3 separate regions of the Homo sapiens genome follow, and regions 1 and 3 are each linked to region 2. The links are contacts of gene promoters, found by promoter capture Hi-C in human tissues and cell types (Jung and others, 2019). All regions are on one chromosome and are shown on one strand. Each heading gives the region's core, a stretch centred on a gene start or on the middle of the fragment in contact. The rest is flanking DNA. Distances are from core to core; before and after follow the strand shown.

Region 1 (4,097 bases), core at 1,379-3,878, 140 kb before region 2:
CCCCTAGGGTTGCTATGGGGATTAAATAAGCTGATATATGTAAGTGTTTAGACAGCATTTGGTCTATAGTCAGTGCTCAATAAACAGTAGCTTGTTATTGGTATTGATATTATTTGCCAGCCCTTGCCAGAGTGATGTCATTTTCTCCCTGCGATACCCCATCCAGGGGCGTTACTTCTCTCATTTTGCAGATAAGGGAATGGAGGCTTTGACAGGCCAGTGACCTGCCACCTCCGAGGATGGGCTGCTTCCTGGCCCATGGTTCCTGGCTGGGCACTCTCCTGCCACTTTCACCTCTGATGCTTTGAGTGTAAGAGCTCCAGAAGCTCACACTCAAAGGATGGCACCCTCATTCCCTGCCACCACCCAGGGCAACAAAGACACGTGGTGGATGAGGCTGGCAGCAGGTCCCAGGCGGATGAAGGAGTTGATGGCCCAGGGGAGGAAGGGGATGTACCTGCTCCTTCAATCCCCAGCACAGTCCAGGCACCCAGTCTTGCCTCCAGAAGCCTGACAGAGCTGGCCCCCATCCTGGGGTCACCAAGGCTGGCAGCCCCTGTGAAGTGGAAGGTTCACATCCCCTGACCATCTCAAGGGAACAAGAAAACGGGTAGAGTGGCAGTCTGGAGTTAGAAGCACTGGGTTCAAAGTCCAGCTGTGCAGAGATCGTGCCACTGCACTCCAGCCTGGGCGACAGAGCAAGACTCTGTCTCAAAAAAAAAAAAAAAAAAAAGAATTCCAGCTCTGCAACTTTTGGGAATTCACATCACGTCTCTGCGCCTCAGTTTTCTTGTCTATACAATGGAGCTACTTGTAGTTCCTCCTTCCGGTGGTGCATGGAGAGCTCTTAGCTTAGTGCCTGGCTCAGCATCAATAACCAACAAAGATTCGCTCTCTTCTCCCTGAGTCCAAAGCAGCTTCCAAACTCAGATGTGTTGAGCTTCACAGAGTCTGCCAAGAGCCTGGGGCAGGGTGCAGAGCCTGAGGACTTCCCGGGATCCTGGGAGGCTCCCAAGCCTGTTGTTGGTGTGGACAGGGCAGCTCTTTGGTGCCGCCAGGGTGCGCTAGACAGGTTGCCACAAACCACACTGCAATTTAGTGTGAATTAATAAAAGATGTCCCAAGCATGGAGTTTGGAGATTACAGCACATACCGAGCTAGCTCCCTCTGCCTTCTCAGTCAGGCACCCCGTGTAGGGTGTAACTCCAGGGACTCCACAGCAAGACACCAGCTGCCATCTTTGCAGGAAGCCAGAGGGGACAAGACCACAGAAATAATTGCAGAGTATGAGCCTGGAGGTTGGAGTCCTAAGCTCCACATGCATAATTAAGCTGACTTGTGTTAGGTGAAGGGAGATTACAAGATACACGCTCATAGGGCTGTCAGATGCTGGGAAGAGTCAGTGCAGTGATGAGACGGAGTAATTAGCTCAAAAACCAAGGGCAAATCTATAGGCAGGAAGGGGTGGGACCTGAGGCAGCAAGAGTCATGCCAGGCAGTGAGGGGGGCCCACTGGGCACTGAGATGCCATCAGCCTCTTAGTGACATTCACCCAGGAAGCAAGAGGGCCTCATTCACAGACTCAGGGAGGGCCTGGGATGGCAGCATGCTGCCATGCCATCTCACACCCCCCAGAGCTGGGATGCTGCTCAAGAGAAACAAAATATAACTGGGACTTTCACTCCTGTTTAATAGCAGCAAGTCCCAGATGCAAGAACAAAAAGAAGGTCAGAGAGCTGGACCATTCAAGGCCAGGTTGCAGGGTAAGGGCATCTATCTTCACCTCCAGGCCAGAAATGACTGCTGCATTCCCAAGCTTTGGTTTCCCCTTCTTTGTCAAGGTTAATTACCCCTGCCCCTTGAAGGGGAGAGTCATCGGTCAGGAGGCAGCCTGACCTGAGGGTTAATGTGTTTGAATCCTGATCTGACTCTAAGTGGTTTGGGACCTCCTGGGATTCATTCCCTCATAAGGCCCCTGCTCTCAATATTCCAGCTGAAGAGGGTACTCCAACCACCCACCCTGCCAAGCAGCAGCAACAGCAGCAGAGGAAACAGATCCTAGCCCAGTGCCTGGCACATAGTAGGCACTCAACACATGCTTGCTCATTGCTAAATGCAATAGATCTAAAAATACAGGAAAGAAGGAAACAAAAATATCAGCTGGGGAGACTGGATGCCTAGACAACTCAGAGAAAGCACTACATGCTTATTAAAGAGAAAAAAAATGAATTCATCTAATTTGTAGGATGCAAGATAAAGCCACAAAAAATCAATTGCATTCTTACATCCCAGAGACCCACAGAAAATCCAATGAAAAAGATCCCATTTATAATAATAAAAAAACAAATACTTGAGAGCTCTTTTAATTTGCTACACAAGCTATTTGTTTAAAGAAATTACAAAAACCCAATGGAGGCTCAATATTAGGAAAAACATCAACATAATTCATTACATTAGTAAATTAAAGGAGAAAAACCATATGATTATTTCAATAGATTTTTAAGGAGCATTTAATTAATTTTTCTTTATAAAAATTCTAGGTGAAATTGGAATAGAAGTAACCTTCCTATTCATAACAAAAAAGAATATTTATCAGAAGCCAGCAGGAAGTATCATATGCAATGTTAAAATTATAAATGCATTCCTATGAAAACTAGGAATAAGACAGGGAAACCCTTTTTTACAAGCATTCTGGAAATTTTAGACAATGGAATAAGGCAAGAAATTATAATCAGTTCAATAAGTATAGCCCTACCAATATTTATATAGCGTCAGGCACTGTCCTAAGTTCATTACATGAGATGAGGAAACTGGAGCACAGAGAGGTTAAGTAACTTGTTAAAAGTCACACAGCTTCTAAGTGGCAATGCTGGAATTTGAATCCAAGTGATCTGGTTCCAGGATATACATTTTTCTACCTTAAAAATGCTGTCTCTCAGGCATTGAGAGGAGAAGTATTATTATTATTATTATTTGCAGATAATATTTTCACATCATAATGCAAAAGATCAAAATAAAAAAAATCTATTAGCACTGATAAGTGTCAGTAAGATGTCTGCATAGAAGATCAATGTGCAATTACCAGTTTCCTTTATTCCACCAGGGCAGGGGCCTCTGTGGCAGCATCCAGCACCAGGCCTGAGACACAGAGGGCTCTCAATAACTATTTGCTGAAAGATGAAGCAACAGGCTCTACGTATGGCACAGTTTGGAAAGGCCACATAGGTCAGCAATGCAGCTGGACTTGTGCAAGGGATCCATTGTTCCGGCATTGAGTCCACTCCTGGGTGACTGGGTTGCCTTTCCTTCACGAGCTTTCAGACACAGAGAAAGGCCCACCCAGCATCACCTGCAACAACCCCTTAAACCGTGATTCCTGTCCTGCCCATCACAGCCCAACACCTAGGTGGGATCAAGGCCCATGGTCCATGCTGGAAAGGGAGAGGGAGGTGAATTCCAAAGTCAGCTCTTTTCATCTGGCAGGCTAGGGCTCCGTCCCTCTTTCTACCATTGCCCAGAGTTGTAGCTTAAGAAATCTCCCGACCGGGGGCAATGCATGGAGCGCTGCCCTTGAATCTGTCCCATGGTCTATGTGCACAGAGAAGTAGAGCACCATCCTGAGAAACGACATTTGCAAAGCGCTTCCAGAATGCTGCATTGGCAAAAGTGTCATTTGTCGTCCAAATCAGGCACTTTTGAGGCTGAACAAGGGTTGCTCTTAACAGTCACCCTCAGATAACAAGCGCCATCTGGACTGTTCCAGGCATGCTTGGTTGCATGGTTGCTGTCATGGCCCTCCACGAGGTCAGTGCTATTATCACCATCCCATTTTATAGACACAGATATGGAGAATGGGGGAGGTGACAGAGGAAGAGGTGGAGGCAGGAGTTGCTCTTGGATCTTTCTGTCTCTAGAGGCACCTTGGCAAAGCAGCATCTTCACTGCTGGTCCATATGCTCGCTCCTCAGGGTTCATGCTGCTCATCTTTGAAATCCCAGCAGCACCCAACACAAGGGCCTGCACATCGTGGATCTGGAGGTGTGGGCTGGCTCCTGTTTACAGAACCCAAATGAGGCTGGTGTGGTGGGAGGTAGTGG
Region 2 (3,791 bases), core at 607-3,106:
CTGGGTTACACCAACCCCTCCCCCCTCGCTGTCAGGACCACCTTCCGGGCTCAAATTCTGCAGCTTCTCCCATCAGCAGACCCAGCACTCCCCAAGGACTTCGGGGTAGAAGGAGTTGGGGTTATTTTTAAGGGGGCACCCCTTCCTGGCAGGCACTCTCAGAGCCTAGGTAGGCACCTCCTGCTGGGACAAGGCTATGGCATAGGACAGAGGTGATGCCCACCTCTATCATCCAGTGGGGCTCGGGGTCGAGACCTTATTGATCATAAAGACGACTTTTTGGCACCTCGCGTCCCGCTCCCCTCCGAGGCGGAGCCAGGCTCTGACTCCAGCCAGGCTGAGGTTGGCACCAGGCTCCGAGGAGGATCCCGGACGCGGAGCCTGTAGTCTCGGTGCCTGCGGCTCTTCGCTGGTCCCGCCTCCCTCCCTCCTGGCTTTTAGCCTCACGTTGGCTCTCTGCTCACTGCGCGAAAGGGTTCAGCTCCATTTAAGACCCACTACGCGGCGGCACTGGGTGGGAGGCCGGCCGCGGACCCTGGGGCTGCGGAGCCACCTCTCACTGGCTCCGGAGAACCCGCTCGGCTTCAACCTCCTTCTAGCTGTCTTAGCCTAACCCGGGAGCAAGTCCACACGGCGGGACACACACACACACACACACACACACACACTGAGCTGCTCACAACTCCCCAGCCCCGGAAGCGTCCATACCTCCCTGCACACGATAACCACACGCTCCATGGCACGCATACACACACTCCCAGCCCCATGAAGCCCACGACTCCCAGGCACCTGCACCCCCACCCATCCCACATAAGCAGACTCTTGTCCAGTGTCACAGTCCCATCTCCTGTGCACACAGAAATAGTAATCCGCTGTCGTACACCCCTAGAGACCTGCACACTCGGGACACACGTGAAACGCCAAACCTCACATACCCACCCCCTAACACCTCACACCCACAGTGACACAAGCTCACACACTTCACACCCTCACAGGGAAGGTGGCACATGTTCACACCCTCCCCCCAACATTCGCTCACACTCTCACACACACACCTTCTCCATGTAACTGACACAGACACTCTAACACCCATCCAGACCCTCGCTCACTCACACGCAGACCCCACACCATCACACACACACGCACACACACACTTGCATCTCTAAATACACTCCCGCACCTTCTGCCCACACAGCTCCTTCCCGGACACCCTCACCCAGACACACAACAAAGACACACAATTTACACACACACACACACCCTGGCACAAATCCATGAGCGCTCTCCAAGAGGCGTCCTCCCTCCCTCATCGAGCCAACCAGCTCCACAGACCCCGGGCAGGACCGGTGCTCGTAGCCCGAGCCTCTCGGAGCGACCCCGGCCAGCGCCCTCCCCCGGCACCCCGTCCCCGCGCACGTTCACCGCTCGGCTCCCGCCAGGCGCCCGCGCACTCACCGCGCGCCAGGTCCAGGATCGCGGCGAGCAGCAGGCAGACGCAGCGGCGGAGGCTCGGGGCGGTTCGCATGGTGCCCGGGAGCTGGCGGCGGTGGCGGGGCGGCGGGGGTGGAGGCGGTGGCGGCGGGTCCCCTCGCCATGGGCTCAGACGCGCTCCTGCCTCCGGCCACTGGCCGAGGCGGTGGCGGGCAGCGCGGAGAGCCGCGGGGGCGCCCCCATGCCGCCGCGGCCAGGCAGCCCGGGCGCCCGGCTCGACTCGGCTCCGGCTCTGCGAGGCGCAGCGACCCTCGCGCTCTGGGCGTCCTCGGGGCTCGCCGCGGTTCTCGGCTCCCTAGCTGCGCGCGGTGCCCACCGCGGCCCAGAGTCCGATCGGCTGCAGCGCCGGAGTTTGGAGCCGAATCGCGCTCTCTGCCTCGCGCTCGCCTCTCCCGGCGGCGCGAGCACCCCCCTCCTCTCGCCCTCCCTCCGTCCCTCCCCCTCTCCCCGCCCCCCCGCCCTCCTTGCCCTCCCCTCGCCGCGCTCTCCGCGTATTATACAGACTTTTCTTTAATCCTTTCTGGGCTGTTCGGCTCTCGTCCGCTAAGCCGATTTATTGCAGGGAGAAGGAGAGCTCACCCCCTCCTAACCTCCCCTCTCCCCTCACTCAGGTCCCCCCTCACTCAAAACTGGCTTGCTGCCTCCAGCTTCTTAACCCTTACCCAGGTGACCCAACACCCCGCCCTGGAAGCTATGCTCCATCGGATCCGCCTTTACCTAGCCCCTCCTATCCCCGGGATTACCATCGCCCTCCCCGCTACTCAGCCTGATGAAAGGAGGCAGCCTCCCTCCCGAGAGGGAAAGATGCCATCCTGGGAGCAGGGCAGGCAGGGTGTGGCTCTGGAGTTCTGACCTTGCCAACGATGAATGCCCTCATTGGGCAAGATTAAGGGGTTTCCATGTTCTGAAACTTCCCCAATTACGGCTGCTCCTTCCCCCAGGGACCCACGGAAATGGGGTGTGTTCTGTCTTTTTCCCATGTGCTAGGATCCAGCCAGGAAGGGTGAGGAACTGATTGTTTCCTCCTGGCAGAGACCAAGTTTCCACCTTTTTGCCAGACCTGACAGCTTTTCTTCCCAGGTCCGAGAAGAACAGGTTTGGGACTTGTATGTTACCATTACTCTCCCACCAACACACACGCGAGCACACACACACACACACACACACACACACACACACCATTGAGCCTCAGCCCTGGCGGTGGACTTTGAGGCCTCCTGCGAGGATGAAGGGGAGGGGTACTCTAGCCCTTGGAGTGGACTGGGGATGTGGTTAGATGAGGAAGTTCAGGAGATAGAATTTCACCATTGGTAGGGACCCAGAAGATTGGCAAAGCCCAGAAAAACCAGCACGACCAGGGGCAAAACCTGCTCAGAACTCAGGTGGGTCCCTTTACCCAGGCCTTCTATGGAGAATCTCCAGCTTCCCTAGCTCTGGCAGGTTGCTGAGTCAGGCTGTTGCATCGTTTACCTACATGGGCAATGGGTCTATAGCCAGTTCCATCTCCAGCAGCCCTCTGAGAGGAGTGTAGGGAGTGGGGTGGGCAATGGGTGGTTGCTGGGCTGCCTCTGGGTGAGCTTTGTGCAGAGATGTCCATGAAAGTGAACTGCTCCCTCCTCCTGCCCTCTGGAACCTCACCCCATCGCCTCCCAAGGCAGCTCTGCGGCTCAGCTTGCTCACCCACCCCAGAAGGAGCGATTTGCATTTATGAAGATCTGAAAGCATACGTTCACCTGACAGGCTTTAGAATGATCCTCTCAGTAAAATAATAATAATGATCATAATAAACCCTTATAAATAGGTGTTTGATTACAGTTTGTCCCTAAGTGGGATTTTTTTTTTTTTTTTTTTTTTTTTTTTTTGTGAATCAGACTAATTGGTTCCAGGTTGATTGGACTGCATATGGCTTGAACACTTGATGAACACTGGAGTCTTAGGTCCTTTCTTCTCCCTTTGGCTGCTGTTCTTTGCTCCCTCTCACTCGCATCCACCCAGGTCTCCCCTTCTCCAGGCTGCTGAGGGTCAGCTTGAGGTCACCTCTCCCCCTCACCTTCTTCTCAGGCTGCAGGGCACAGTCCCTTACTGCCTCCTCCCTGGCCCTCCCTCCCCACTCTGACCCAAGAAAAAGTCAACAAACCCAAAAGTCCATCCCAGGTTCTAAATCCTCTGTGGAAGGGGCTCCCTGGCTGGGGAACAGCATCAGGTTCATGCGGTTCCTTGTGCTGGTCTGAGTTGTGCAGGGAAATGCCAAGCATCGCTGTGTGGGCATTCCTACTCTCTGGCCCCAGCTGCAAATCGGC
Region 3 (4,187 bases), core at 1,191-3,690, 150 kb after region 2:
CCACATCAGGGGATTGTTAGAAGAGAAGAGAGCACCCTAAGAGTCTGTCTGATCCAGTGAGTAGAAAACATACTTGCAAAAGTCACAACATATGCAGAGTTGAGGGTGAAGGCAGGATTGGAGAGTATAGAAAAAAGAAACTTAACAGTTACTTATGTAACCCCATGCCAGGTGCCGAATAGATAACAGACAGGCCCCTCCCAGCCACTGTAGGAGGTCGATCCTCATATGCCTGTTTTGTAAGTAAGGGCATGGAAGATTGGAGGAGGGAGGCAGCTCCCCTAAATCTTATACCTTGTTAAGTGCAAGAGTCAGGACTTGAATCCAGGTCCAGCTGAATACAGGCTATAGCCTTCTTCTGACCATTCCACAAACTCCAGAGAGTCCAGATGCCATCTCAGAGTAGGACGCACAGCAGGGTCTCAGTAAATATTTCCCAAATTATTGAAGGAAAGAATAGAAGAATGGCGAGTGAACTAGGTCAGTGCTTAAGCAACTGGGAGGCGATGCATCTTGAGTTATATTCAGATGCTGAACTGCAGAGGAAGATCAGGTCATCCCAACTCCTCTCTCCCCCAAGGGAGCTGACCACCTCACCAGGGTCATGGGGTGAGTTGGCTGAGGGGTTCGCGTTGCAGCAGGTGGGCTTAGGTGCTCCTCCCATCTTGCATGACTGGAGGGAATGGAGCGCCTCGAACTGGGATGAAGGAAAGAGCACACTCTCTCCCCTTCTGGCTCAATTTGCTCAGCAACAGCATAATGAAGCAATCAGTGGCATCTCTGACAGGCCTGGACACGCCCCAGCACACGATGGCAAATTCAGGCCTGTTCTGAGTTTTGTCTGACATGAAGAAAATGACAGAAAGCATCCTTGAAGAAGAAAGATAGAATGGGAGTGGGGGCTCTTACGTTAGACCTAAGGGGATCTTCCCTACAAAAGGAATTGTCCAGCCCCACGATAGGTGGGAAAACCTCACTTGAGAGCAGATTCCTGTGAAAAGGGCAGGGAATTCTCAATGGGCCTTTCTCATGCAAACCCATTGTGCAATAGAGGAACTGTCCAAAGGAGCTCACCCCACCCTCCAACTTCAGAGCTGGAAGGGCCTTGAAACAGAAAATCTCTTAGATCAACACCCCCCCTTTACAGATCCTGAGGTCCAGGGATGGGTGGGAAGACAGCAAGTTTACACATCGAGGAGGGACCAAGCAGTCACCAAAGATCCCTGTCTCGACTTCTGTCCCAGGCCAGTCACCAGACAAAAGTTTTCTCTGTGGCTCTTTGCTCTGATCTTTTTCCCTTTAGCTGTAGGATTTTTCCCACAGATGAATATCATTTTCCTGTATTATATTTCATGAAACCACTTTGAATCTGTCTACTTTTTGGCCCTGGGACTCTCCAATTAAGACATAGTAAAGAAGACTTTTATAAAGGAATTCAGCAGCACGTAAAAGCAATTAGATTGTAAGTGGGTAACGACTTGAGGGCAATGGGCATTGGCTCCTGGGAAGCTGTCTCTTCCTAAGCTGTCAGTCACTTTGAATCTGGAGCCCTATGGTCTGGGTTCAAATCCCGACTCTGCCATTTTCTAGTAGGATGACTTTGGGCAAGTTATTCTCTGTGACTCAGTTTCCCCATGTGTGAAATGGGGATAATACCACTACTTCCTAAGAAGTGAGATAAAGTAACTGAATACTTATAGAGCATTTGGAACAGAGACTGCCACATAGTAAGTGCTCAATACATATTAGCTACTGTTTTTGGCATGGTGGGGCAGGGGTATGGGAGGCTGGCTTGGCAGAGACCTGATGCTGGCTAGGACTGGAAAGCTCTTCGGAGACAGGCTGGTCTATGACTCTAGAAATGTGGGCTCTAAGTCCAGCTCAGTCATGTAGGTTTTGCTGTGTGGCCTTGAGTAAGTAACCCATCTCCAATCTCTAAGCCTCAGTTTCCCCATCTGGAAAATGAAGTAATAGTACCAAGAAATCTCCACCTTGTACTCCCAACTCTAAGATTAGAAGAGTCAGAAGGCCAGATGCAGTGGCTCACGCCTGTAATCCCAGCATTTTGGGAGGCCGAGGCAGGCGGATCACGAGGTCAGGAGATCAAGACCATCCTGGCTAACACAGTGAAACCCCGTCTCTACTAAAAATACAAAAAAAAAAAAAAAAAAAAAAAAAATTAGCCGGTGCTAATTTTTTAGTGCCTAATTATTTAGGTGGTGGGCGCCTGTGGTTCCAGCTACTCCGGAGGCTAAGGCAGGAGAATGGTGTGAACCCAGGAGGCGGAGCTTGCAGTGAGCTGAGATCACGCTACTGCACTCCAGCCTAGGCGACAGAGCGAGACTACGTCTCAGAAAAAAAAAAAAAGATTATAAGAGTCAGAGGTTTTCACTCGCGGCACAGCAAGGGGAATCTGGCTCAACAGGCCTGCTTTACTATCCTCACCCTAATACAATAGCATTTGTAAATTCCATCCTTCCCATCTAGCCTGTTCTCATCTGACCCATTCTGGGAGATTTTCTCATGGATCTTAGAGTCAGGATAGCCAGGCTGGGCCATCAAAGTCAGCTGTCAGGGCGGAAAGCTTGTCTGTGGGCACTGGGGCTGGCCACTACCTGTCACCCTCCCCACAGGTTCTGTCAACCATCCTCGGGTACCAGTCTCCCTGGCTCCTGAGCCAAGAGACAGTGGGCAGCCTGTCAGAGAAGCTGGACAGATGCTCCTCTAGTGAGGAAATGGGAAGTCCCATGCTGGCTGCTTGCCTCCCTGAGCTGGAGTGCATCTGACAGTCTGAGAAGCAAGGAGAAGGGCTGCTCCCCTTCTCTGCTGGCCTGGCATGTGAACAAGGGACAGGCTGTCCGTGTGAGTCTGGGATGTGCCACAGCACTGCCTCAGTTAAGGGACTTGGGGGAGCAAGGAGGACCTCTTGGGAGCCTTCAGAACCCTCAATTCTTCCTTCCCTCTGTGCTTAGCCACACCCAGCTGCAGATGCAGGAAGCAGGAGAGGGACAGGCCGGGCACAAGTCAGGCCTGAGTGTGGCCCCACTGTGCCCCTCCTCAGCTTCGTGGTTTTGAGTGAGTCATGTCCCTCCTGGGCCTCACTTTCCTCATCTATAAAATGAGGATCCTACTAGGACACACCTGTGGGGTTTGGGGAATGTCTAAAAGAAGAAACAGGAGAATAGCTAACATGGACCTAGCATCTCAGTTTAACAGGCTCTGATCCAAACACTTTACCTGTGTGCTTTATTCACTGTTCATCACAATCCTTTAGAGTAGACACGGAGAGGTTAAGCAACTTGCCCAAGGAGAAGCACAGCTGGTCAGAGGCAGAGCCAGTTCAACCCCGAGCATCTGGCTCCAGACTCTACTCAACTCCTGCTAGTTGGAGAGGGCTTCCAGCACCAGCTAGAAAGCTTGATCAGTGTTAATTTCCCTGCTCTTCCCCTCACTGAGACTAAGTTTGGGCTACTTTGGGAGAGGCTGTGCTCTCCGCTGCTCCAGGAGAGAGAAGCAGAGATGCTTCTGGGCAGCTGCCTTGCACACTGGGCTTCAGTGGTACCAAAAAAATGCCAGCAGCGGCCGGGCATGGTGGCTCACACCTGTAATCCCAGCACTTTGGGAGGCCGAAGTGGGTGGATCACGAGGTCAGGAGTTCGAGAACAGCATGGCCAATATGATGAATCCCCATCTCTACTAAAAATGTAAAAATTGGTCGGGTGTGGTGGTGTGCACCTGCAGACCCAGCTACTCAGCAGGCTGAGGCAGAAGAATCGCTTGAACCCAGGAGGCAGAGGTTGCAGTGAGCCGAGATCGCGTCACTGCACTCCAGCCTGGGTGACAGGGCAAGACTCCATCTCAAAAAAAAAGAAAAAAAAGAAAGAAAGAAAAAGAAAAGAAAAAAGAAAAAAAAATGCTGGCAGCAACCTGAAGGTCCCCCGTGTTGCCCAGGTCTTTTCTGGACTTACCTGCACGGATTCCCACCACCTCTCTCTCTTCCCAAAAGTCCTTAAACAGAGTTTGAAGCCCCATAACCTGGGGGAAACATTTCTTCAAGCACATCAGAATGCAAAAACTTCATTCCCTGATCACCCCATATCACCTGGGGGCACAGGGGTCGGGGGGTATCTTCTAGACCTGGACCCTCCTAAGCCACATCACCAGCCAGGAGCTGGCTTAGGGCACCC

The links. Contacts are between HindIII fragments. The study calls those that stand out against the background at their distance.
Region 1: a fragment that was not itself captured here is called in contact with the fragment with the promoter of IGSF21 in region 2 in 1 of the 25 tissues and cell types used here (hippocampus).
Region 3: a contact is called between a fragment that was not itself captured here and the fragment with the promoter of IGSF21 in region 2, in 2 of the 25 tissues and cell types used here (liver and spleen).

Annotation. Positions count from the first base shown.
Region 1 is chr1:18,243,685-18,247,781 of GRCh38, reverse strand. All of the region lies in intron 2 of IGSF21 (immunoglobin superfamily member 21), which reads right to left. Among named protein-coding and RNA genes, the nearest start is that of IGSF21-AS1, 70 kb to the right of the region's middle. The HindIII fragment of the contact is 8,753 bases long and covers 1-4,097 here.
Region 2 is chr1:18,105,863-18,109,653 of GRCh38, reverse strand. It overlaps IGSF21 (immunoglobin superfamily member 21), which reads right to left and starts at 1,856. Exons shown (of 10, transcript NM_032880.5): 1 at 1,456-1,856. The coding sequence starts at 1,525. The HindIII fragment of the contact is 17,740 bases long and covers 1-3,791 here.
Region 3 is chr1:17,954,652-17,958,838 of GRCh38, reverse strand. No RefSeq gene overlaps it. Among named protein-coding and RNA genes, the nearest start is that of LINC01654, 110 kb to the left of the region's middle. The HindIII fragment of the contact is 4,529 bases long and covers 176-4,187 here.